Linked DNA regions of Homo sapiens: region 1 is linked to region 2. The links are contacts of gene promoters, found by promoter capture Hi-C in human tissues and cell types (Jung and others, 2019). All regions are on one chromosome and are shown on one strand. The core of a region is centred on a gene start or on the middle of the fragment in contact, and the rest is flanking DNA. Distances in the headings are between cores, read along the strand shown. Region 1 overlaps CSMD1 (CUB and Sushi multiple domains 1). Region 2 holds the start of CSMD1 (CUB and Sushi multiple domains 1).

What was found. Contacts are between HindIII fragments. The study calls those that stand out against the background at their distance.
Region 1: a fragment that was not itself captured here is called in contact with the fragment with the promoter of CSMD1 in region 2 in 5 of the 25 tissues and cell types used here (H1 embryonic stem cells, aorta, dorsolateral prefrontal cortex and 2 more).

What each region holds. Positions count from the first base shown.
Region 1 is chr8:4,847,128-4,851,978 of GRCh38, reverse strand. The region is part of intron 1 of CSMD1 (CUB and Sushi multiple domains 1); the gene reads left to right. Among named protein-coding and RNA genes, the nearest start is that of CSMD1, 150 kb to the left of the region's middle. The HindIII fragment of the contact is 3,790 bases long and covers 33-3,822 here.
Region 2 is chr8:4,992,750-4,997,949 of GRCh38, reverse strand. It overlaps CSMD1 (CUB and Sushi multiple domains 1), which reads left to right and starts at 3,036. Exons shown (of 70, transcript NM_033225.6): 1 at 3,036-3,618. The coding sequence starts at 3,534. The HindIII fragment of the contact is 12,651 bases long and covers 686-5,200 here.

The sequences.
Region 1 (4,851 bases), core at 678-3,177, 140 kb after region 2:
TAGGGAAAAAACTTAGACTAGTGGTTTACTCAGCCTGTGTACAAGGCAGAGGGAGAATGAAGAGTGATAGCAAATGAGTATAAATTTTCTCTATGGGGTGTGAGAAATATTCTGAAATCTAATTTTAGTGATGGTGGCTTCACTCTGTAATTATCTTGGGAAACATTTAATCACACAAGTTAAAGGGGAGGGTGACTTAAAAGTACGTTCATCTCAATAGACCTGTCTTTGAAGAAGAAGAAGTCTTAAGGTTCTTGTTAGTCATATGGGTGATTGCCGATGCCACACAATGGGACTCTTAGTGAGGAGAGGGAGAGCAGGAGACATTGAGAAGTCAGGTAATCCCATAGATTATTATGAAACTCCCACATGGAGTTGGATAGGCTATTGAATGCCAACTGAAGATACAGGTCATAGGTTCTGAACCTATGGGGGTAGACTACCTCAACCCTGGAGAATGTATAGGGGAGTGAGAAGCGCCATGGATGAAATACTCAAATATCAAAAAAGAAAAAAAATAGAGGTTGACAAGGGAAGAATTTAAGAAATTGACGAAGAAGATGCAGCCAGGAAAAAAACAAAAAAGGAAAAGCAGGAATTGGTGGGATCATGAAAGCCAGTGAAAGAAGGAGCTTAAAAAGGGGGCGAGAAAAGTTGGCATGTATACACCATAGAATACTATGCAGTCATAAAAAATGATGAGTTCATGTCCTTTGTAGGGACATGGATGAAGCTGGAAACCATCATTCTCAGCAAACTATTGCCAAGGACAAAAATCCAAACACTGCATATTTTCACTCATAGGTGGGAATTGAATAATAACACATGGACACAGGAAGGGGAATATCACACTCCGGGGACTGTTGTGGGGTGTGGGGAGGGGGGAGGGATAACATTAGGAGATATACCTCATGCTAAATGATGTGTTAATGGGTGCAGCACACCAACATGGCACATGTATACATATGTAACTAACCTGCACTTTGTGCACATGTACCCTAAAACTCAAAGTGTATATATTAAAAAAAGGAAATTAACAAGGATAAAAAAATAACCACAAAAAGTGGGGGGGCAAGGGAAACAATCTTCAATGCATAAAGGTTCATGTGACATGAGGACTAAACATACTTTATTGAATTCAGCAAAAGGATGCCACTGGTTGAATTTTTGAGGGCAGTTTGGGTAAAATAATAGGCAAGCCACTAGGTTTGGGGTTGAAAGAAAATTGAGGTACTGGAACAATGAGTGCACACAACTGCTTCACGACACTCTGCACTTCATCCAGAGAGAGAGAGAGACAAAGCTAAGGGGGTAAGGAGCAAGGACTTTGTTCTGATGGAAGAGTCATAGAGAGAAAAGAAAGAGACTAAGTGATGAGGAAGAGAGGATGAAGGATTTCTACTTCGCTGAAGTCCTGGGAGAGAGTGCTGGGGGAGGAGTGGTGCAAAGGAGGGAAATGGAAGATTTTGGAAAATAACCAATGTTTGCAATTGTCATGTGACTGAAGGGAGAGGAAGCTTCCTGAGCAATCAATGAAAAAAGAGTAAAGATGTTTTTTACTAAAGGCAAGAGCAAAAAAAAAAAAAAAAAAAAAAAGATAAATTGGATTTCATCAAAATAAAAACATTTATTCTTCAAAGAGACCATTAAGACAGTAAAAACACAAGCCGTAGAATGGGAGAAAATGTTTGGGGATTGTGTATCTGATAAAGGATTTGCATCTAGAACATAGAAAGTACTCTTGGAGCTCAGTAATAAAATGACAGATAACCCAGTTAAAAAATAGGTTAATGATCTTCATATACATTTTACAAATACCAATATTCACATAAAGAGATTTTTGACGTTATTAGGCATCAGGGGAATGCAATCCAAAACCACCATGAGATCCTACTTCACACCCACCAGGATGGCAAGAATAAAAAAAGCCAAGTATAGTACGTACGTAACACAGATGTGGAGAAATTAGAACCCGCATGTCTGCTGCTGGTGGGAATGGAAAAAAGTTCAGCCACATTAGCAAAGAGTCTGGTAATTCCTGAAATGTTTAAACATAGCATCATAATATAATCGAGAAATGCCATTTCTAATATACCCATGAGCAATGAAAACATATACAGTTACATGTTACATAACAATGAGGAAATATTCTGAGAAATGCTTTGTTAGGCAATTTCATCAATGTATGAACATCATTGAGTGCACTTACTAAAACCAAGATGGTTTAGCTTCCTAGAGACCTAGGATGTATGGTATAGCCTGTTGCCCCTAAGCTTCAAATCTGTACAGCATGTTACTGCACTAAATAATATGGACAACTATAATACAATATCAAGTATTTGTGTATTAGAGCATTTTTAAAAATAGAAAAGGTCACTAAAATTATGGTATAAAAGATGAAAAATGCTACACCTGTATAGAGTACTTGTCATAAATGGAGTTTGCAACCTGGAAGTAGCTCTGTAGGAGTCGGTGAGTGAGTTATAATTGAACGTGAGATCTAGGAGATTACTGTTCACTATTGTGGACTTTACAACCGTTGTACACTGAGGGTATAGCAAACTTACAAAAAGTATTTTTTTCTTTATTCTATTGAATAAAGAAAAAAATTAACTTCAGTTTATTAAATTAACTTCACCTTATTACTTTTTTCTTTATAAACTTTTAATTTTTTAAACATGTGACTCTTTTGTAATAACACATTAAAATATGAAACACATGCACAGGTGTACAATAATATTTTCTTTCTTTATAGCTTTATTCTACAAGCTTTTTTCTAGCTTGAAATTTTGTTTTATTTTACTTTTTGAAAACGTTTTTGTTAAAAGCTAAGACACAAACGCACATTAGCCTAGACTTACACAAGGTCAGAATCATACATATCACTGTCTTCTACCACCAAATTTTGTCCCACTAGAAGGTCTTCAGGGACTATAACAGGTGTAGAGCTGTCATCTCCTAGGATGACAACGCTTTATTCTCCAATACTTCCTGAAGGACCTGCCTGAGGCTGTTTTACAGTTAATACTTTTATAAGTAGAACAAGTACCTTCTAAAGCAACAATAAAAAGTACAATATAGTAAAACTATAAACCAGAAACATAGTTGTTTATTATTATTAAGTATTATGTACTGGGTTGGGCGCGTTGGCTCACGCCTGTAATCCCAGCACTTTGGAAGGCTGAGACGGCCGAATCACCTGAGGTCAGCAGTCTGAGACTAGCCTGGCCAGCATGGTGAAACCCAGTCCCTACTATAAAAATATACAAAAATTAGCTGGGTGTGGTGGTGGGTGCCTGTAATCCCAGCTACTCGAGAGGCAGAGCCAGGATAATTGCTTGAACCAAGAAGACGGAGGTTGTAGTGAGCCGACACGGTGCCACAGCACCGCAGGCCTGGGTGACAGAGTGAGACTCCGTCTCAAAAAAAAAAAAAAGCATTATGTACTATACATCATTTTATGTGCTAGACTTTTAATGACTGGCAGCACGATAGATTTGTTTGCACCAACATCACAACAAACCCATGAGTAATGCACTGCGTTACAATGTTGGAAGACCATAGGCCATTACTAGCTCATAGGAATTTTTCAGCTCCACTATAATCTTACGTGACCACCATTGTATAGGTGGCCCATCCTTGACCAAAAGGTGGTTATCCAGCACATGACTGTATTCACACAAAAACTGGTACAACAATGTTTATGTCAACATTATTCAAACTAGGAAAAAGTGGAAACACCCCAATAGTCTATCACTAGATGAAAGGATAGACAAACTGTGCCATTTCCATACAATGAAATATTATTCAGCCAGACCAAGAATGAAGTACTAATACATGCTGCAGCATGGATGAACCTTGACAATATCCAAAAAAAATAACACAGTTGCAAAACCATACAGCATGTCTATGACTCCATTCATAGGAAATGTCCCCAACAGGGAAATCTACAGAGACAAAAGAAGACGAGTTGTTGTTCGGGCCCTGGAAGGAGAGGGTGGTGTGTGTTTGCCTTGAAGGGATGGGGGGTGGTGCTTGCTAAAGGGTACAGGGTTTCATTTTGCAGTGATGAAAATATTTAAAATTGACTATGGTGATGGTTGCATATATCTGGGAATATAATGAAACACTGAAATTTATACTTTAAATAGGTATATTGTATAGAACTTATATCTCAAGCCGTCAAAAAAAAAAAAAAAAATCCCGATAGAGAGGAATTCTATAGAAGACCTGACCAACGGTCCTGAAAACTGTCAAGGTAGGCGTGAAGAACAAGAAAAGTCAGGAAACTATCATAGTCATTGAAGAGCTTAAGGAGAAACCATGTCTAAATGTTATACAGGGTCCTCGGTGGGGTCCTGGAAGAGATAAACGATATTAGGCAAAACTGAAAAGAATCTGAATAGAGTATGGACTCTTTAATAAAATATTCCAGTATCGGCCCACTAACCATGACAAGTGTATGACACTAATTTAACATGTTAATAGTGGGGTAGTCGGGTATTAGGTGTATGGAAATTCTCTGTACAATCTACACAATTTTTCTGTAAATCCAAAAGTGTTTGAAATTTTAAAATTTATTGAAAAAGATTTATTTTTATTTGGTATCTGAAAATGTGATGTTAGTGTCATTGTTTAGGATTCAAATGTGCAAGATCTGTTGTCTGAAATTATTTATGCCAATTCTCTTAAAATCTTCTTTGAGATTCTAAAGTGCTAAAGATATAATGCATCATCAAACGCATTATTACTTTAAGCATTAATTAATTTCATATAGTGAGAGACCTTAGATTTGCATGCAAAAAGAGAGTGACTTACGAGAGAGTGGCATTCAGAAACAAAGAAGTATCT
Region 2 (5,200 bases), core at 1,787-4,286:
AAGATTTTCGCACATGTGCCGCTTTTCTAGCTAATTAGCATTCTCATCTGGGCATGTTTTAAAATTTTCTAATTTTATCTCAACTATCATGTTCATATTTTCTGCCCCCTCCTCAGATAATTCCATTTAAAATACACTCTCCCTCTTCAGTGGCTGCACTTTTCAGATGTTTATGTTGTCATCTCTCCAACCTTGTCTTAAATTAGTTGCTACCTGAATTTAGGTATGTCATTATCCCTTCCAGAACGTCAGCACCTCTTTGCCTTTAATCATCGCACTGCTCAACTCTCTGATCGGTCCCGAGTGCCAAGGGTATTTCTAGTGTTGCTTAGCCAGGTCCTGAGGCTGTGGAGAGTGTGAGGCCCAGGATGGGGAATGGAGTCAGTATACAAGTAGAGAAGTATGATGTTCCAGGCAGCACAGGCCCTGGCAGAGAAGTGGCCACAGAGCTTCCTGGTGTGACGTCCCTGGGCCCCCACACTCACTCTAACCACGTGTGGTTAATACTGCCCTAAGTAACATGTACTGGACTTCTGATATAGATTAAGGCTTTCGCAATCATTTACACATCAAAGTGTGTATGTATGTGTCGGGGGAGCTTGCAGTGTTCTAATAGGCTCAAGCTGGACCGCAAGGAGGGCACAAGAGTGTTCTGGAGGAGATTCAAAACGCAGGCAGGGAACCGCAGAGGAGGTCAGAGAAGTAAAACAGAGGGACCACTGATCTCTCTGCAAACGCCAAACAAGAAATATTGGACGCTAGATGGCAGCAGAGCCCCATGTTTTCCTTCCAAATTAAGCCAGCCTTGAGATCTTGGGCGAAAAATTCACTGTATAAACACACAAATACAACCATATCAGAAAACCAGCTTATTTTATTTGTCAGCCGTTTCATACCCTTCTCATAATCATGATCAATAAACAATTTGGTACGAATCATTGTAACTCTCTAATATACGATCGGGCCAAAGAAAATACCCCACATAAATAACAGCAAAAAAAATGAGTGGTTATTGGTTATCTGGACCATTATTTCTCAAGGCTTTGTATCAGATAGATTCTTTGCTCTCTGGGGAAAGGAGGTGGCATGGGACGTTTTTCAACAGAACACAGGAAAAGGGAAGTTCAGCCCGGAGCCTGTCACAATTATGTGGAAAGGTGTTCCATCTCTCAGGTGACACTCACCGTCGTTCCTGATTGGGATCCTAATCAAGTGAAAATCATCTATGAGTCCTAGCCTAGGATGGTTAGATGTTGGAAACGTTTTTTAATGGCAGAAATCCTTCTTGGTGACACGAGCCATTAGGAATGGCAGTGTAGAGACAGGGCACCGTTTCTCAAGAAGAAGTCAGCTCTTAAGCTCCTGAAAAGAGATCCGTTTTTCCGGATGAGGCGCTTGAAATGAACTATTGGAGCACTTAATGGGTCTTGGAAAGCATTTTTGTTCACTCGCTGACTCACAGATACTATCTGAGGTCTGATTTAAAATCCCAGAGGGGGCGACCCTCTGCTCCACAGGCCCGGTTCAGCCTGAAGAATAGAACTCAGGGGTTCTATGGGAATTCCCCCGTGACTGAGGCATTCTGTCTTCCGAGTGTCCCTCCAGGGATACATGAGGCAAGACGGGACTCTGCGCTGAGGAAAATCCAAGTCATGTTCAGGACTGCAACTCCAAGAGCACGCATTCTCTCCCTCCCCACCCACCCCATATTTAAATCTCATATATCTGCGAGGAGAAAAGGGTTGTGGAGGTGGCCCCAATTGTGGCCACCTGCACCTTAGGCTGCAGGGAGACTAAGAAAGTCAGGCTTCGGTGTTTCCATGCCAAGGTTGCAGTCCTTCCTGGATCCATTATGCCTTTCTAGGGTAGACTAGGTCACAGAGGCAGGAGCAATCTAAGAAAATTGAAGGAGGGATATAAAACTTTATCAAACTGTCAACCCATTTAATCTCAAAGACTGACAGAGGAAGTGCAGGTGGGATGAAGCGGTGGGCTGTCCCTCCCACCACAGGCATTCGGTGCTGTGGGGATACCGCAGGTAGATGGTTGTATACTCTAATGGTTCCAGGCCTGGAGGCTAATTCTCTCTTACTAGGGTATGGGATTTCCACGTTCTGTCCTCTGAAAGGGCTAAACCTTTTTGGTCAAGGATGTCGAATCCTTTAAATGTCCTTCTATGGAAACCAGCCCTCACTCGTGGTGTTTCTATTAACTGACCACCTTCTCCTAAAATGTCTCTCCTTACACGTTCCCCAGGAACTGCAGGAATGCCTCCTCTATTTGGGGAGCTGGGTGAAATCCAGTTTACTGTATCAAGTACTGCTATTCTAAAGCACTGTTCTCTCTCTGCGGGCTTCATCCTTTTGCAGAATCAGGGAGAACCTGTCTCTTCTCTTTTAAGGTCCCTTCCCAACCCACAGAATTTTATATATAGTTTCATCAGAAGCTGTGCCAACATGCCGGCTCTCACAACCAGACCATAATATTAATTCTAGAGACTTCCTCATGTCACGTTTTATCTGAAGCTGAAGTTTGGGCATGGCTAAATCTAACACAATCCAAAGTCAGGAAATGTGTAAATTTGTGTAACTCCTTGCAAATAGTCCATCTTGCAAAACATTATACATATCATCATATATATATATATATAAATGTATAAATATATTCCTCCCTTGGAGTTGAAGCTTGTGCCCTTTCCACCTGCATTTCTGATCTAAGTTAGGTAGGGGGCTGCTCTCTGGTCAGCAAGGAAGGGAGATCAAAGGATGGAGGCGGGACTCTGCCCCTGCAGAAACCCTCCAGTTTGCTGGAGTTGCCGGATTACATTGTTCCTCCCCGGTGTGCGGCGTGAGCTTCCCCCACCCGAGCGCCCAACAAGTCTCCTTTCTCCAGCCTGCGCGCTGCTGCGCTGAGGCCGAATGAAGCGCAGCACGGTGCGGGCAGCCCGAGGCCCCGAGGCTGGGCTCTGTCTGTCTGGGACTGCGCCGTGCCCAGCCTCGGTCCCCTCTCTGTGGGTAAGGATGGTTGAGTCCAGCCTCCACGGCAGCGGCTCCTTGTGCCACTAGCAGCCCTTCTTCTGCGCTCTCCGCCTTTTCTCTCTAGACTGGATCTCTCCTCCCCCCCGCGCCCCCCTCCCCGCATCTCCCACTCGCTGGCTCTCTCTCCAGCTGCCTCCTCTCCAGGTCTCTCCTGGCTGCGCGCGCTCCTCTCCCCGCTTCTCCCCCTCCCGCAGCCTCGCCGCCTTGGTGCCTTCCTGCCCGGCTCGGCCGGCGCTCGTCCCCGGCCCCGGCCCCGCCAGCCCGGGTCTCCGCGCTCGGAGCAGCTCAGCCCTGCAGTGGCTCGGGACCCGATGCTATGAGAGGGAAGCGAGCCGGGCGCCCAGACCTTCAGGAGGCGTCGGATGCGCGGCGGGTCTTGGGACCGGGCTCTCTCTCCGGCTCGCCTTGCCCTCGGGTGATTATTTGGCTCCGCTCATAGCCCTGCCTTCCTCGGAGGAGCCATCGGTGTCGCGTGCGTGTGGAGTATCTGCAGACATGACTGCGTGGAGGAGATTCCAGTCGCTGCTCCTGCTTCTCGGGCTGCTGGTGCTGTGCGCGAGGCTCCTCACTGCAGCGAAGGGTAAGACGGACTTGCTCCTGGCCGGGGAGGCGGTAGAGCCCTCGGAGGCCCCGTGTGCGGACGCGAGTGTGCGTTTTGGGGACCGCAGGGTACGGAGTGGCCGCCTCTGCCCGGCGCTGCTCCATCGCCGAAGCTCGGGGAACGCGATGCACGGGAGGGAGCTTCCATCGCGCTCTCCCCAGCCCTCCTGGGCCCCCGCCCCACCCCGCCATTCCTTCCCCCTCTCTTGGGCTCACAGGAGAGATCTCTTTTTCTCGGCAGTACAGGGTGTCAAGGAGAAAGGAACCCAATACGAGTTGGGCTGGAACTGTGCTCCGCCGGGGCGGTGTTGCCTCCTCCGAGACGTGGACTCCACGGGTCGGGGTGGCTGAGGGGCAGTTCCCAGGACTTTCTCCCCGGACCCGACGCGCCTGGGAAAGCGTCCCGGGTGAAGCCGGCCTGGAAAGTTCGGGCTCTCTACGGGGGTTTTGGTACCAATAGGCAAAGGTCTCCGCCGGCCCGGCCTCCTCGCACCCATACACCCCATTCCTCCTCTCCTCCTTCCCTCTCCAACGTCCTCAGCCGGCGAGGAGTAGCTGCCTCTAGAAGGTCGCCCCCGCTTTCCTCTCCCCCGGACTTCGCTCCTTGCAAGTTGTAAGGTGTTGGCAAGGTGCGTGAAACAGGCTAGGAGTTCTGGACCGGCTTCCAAGTCAGATACATTCACTGTGGGCGCACGGGTATCCTCCTTCTACGCTGGTCAGGGGAAGGAGTTTCTCTGGGTGGCTCCTGGGCTTGGGGCTCTGTGAGCTTGGTTTTCTCCCTGAATGAGTTGGGGAATGTTTTCTTCTAAGTAGCCTACAGGCTGCGACCTCAAGGCTGGCAATAGCTTGTGTACTTGTTTATTCTCCGGGAAAGAACATAAGCTCCCTTTTGAGACAGGGCGAGAAAGAGGGAGAGAGACAGAGAGAGAGAGAATACTGATTGGTTTTCACATTGGAAATACCTGCCCCTGTCCTCATTTTTAGCCTCCTTAGATGCTTTCTTTATCAGTCAGCACTTCCATAGATGTTCCCGGGAGTATCTGTATCTACAAAGGGTTTTTCTTTCGTTTCATTTTTAAAGGTTGGAGTCCAATCTTACGATTTTTTTTCAATGGTCACTTGCTTTTTTCCCTACATAATATTTCCCCGTCCTCTCTAGATTCTTCCATCTTCTTTTCCACCCATTTCCTTTTCCTCCAGTGGTCCAGATGGAAGAGTGATTGGCAGGGCGAAGGAGGACTGTATCTGGTTCATTAGGAAACTCCAGATCTGCCTGGAGAGCGGGGGAGAGACGTGCCGCCTGGGCTTCCCCTCCCTGCACTTGCCTCCACGGGGCGTCCAGGGCTCCGTGAAAGCTGACCGCTCAGCACCAGCTCCTCCTCACCGGCATCCACCCTCACAAGGGGGTGTCTGCGGGAATGCGCCCCGAGATCTCGGGGATCGCAAACAGTGGGTCTTAGTCACCCAAGCTCGTGGTCGCTCGGGACTGGGGAGCTTCTTGCAGACGCCGACCCTCTGCCCACCCGCCCGGCTCAGTCCGGATGCCTTGGCCGGTGCCTCTG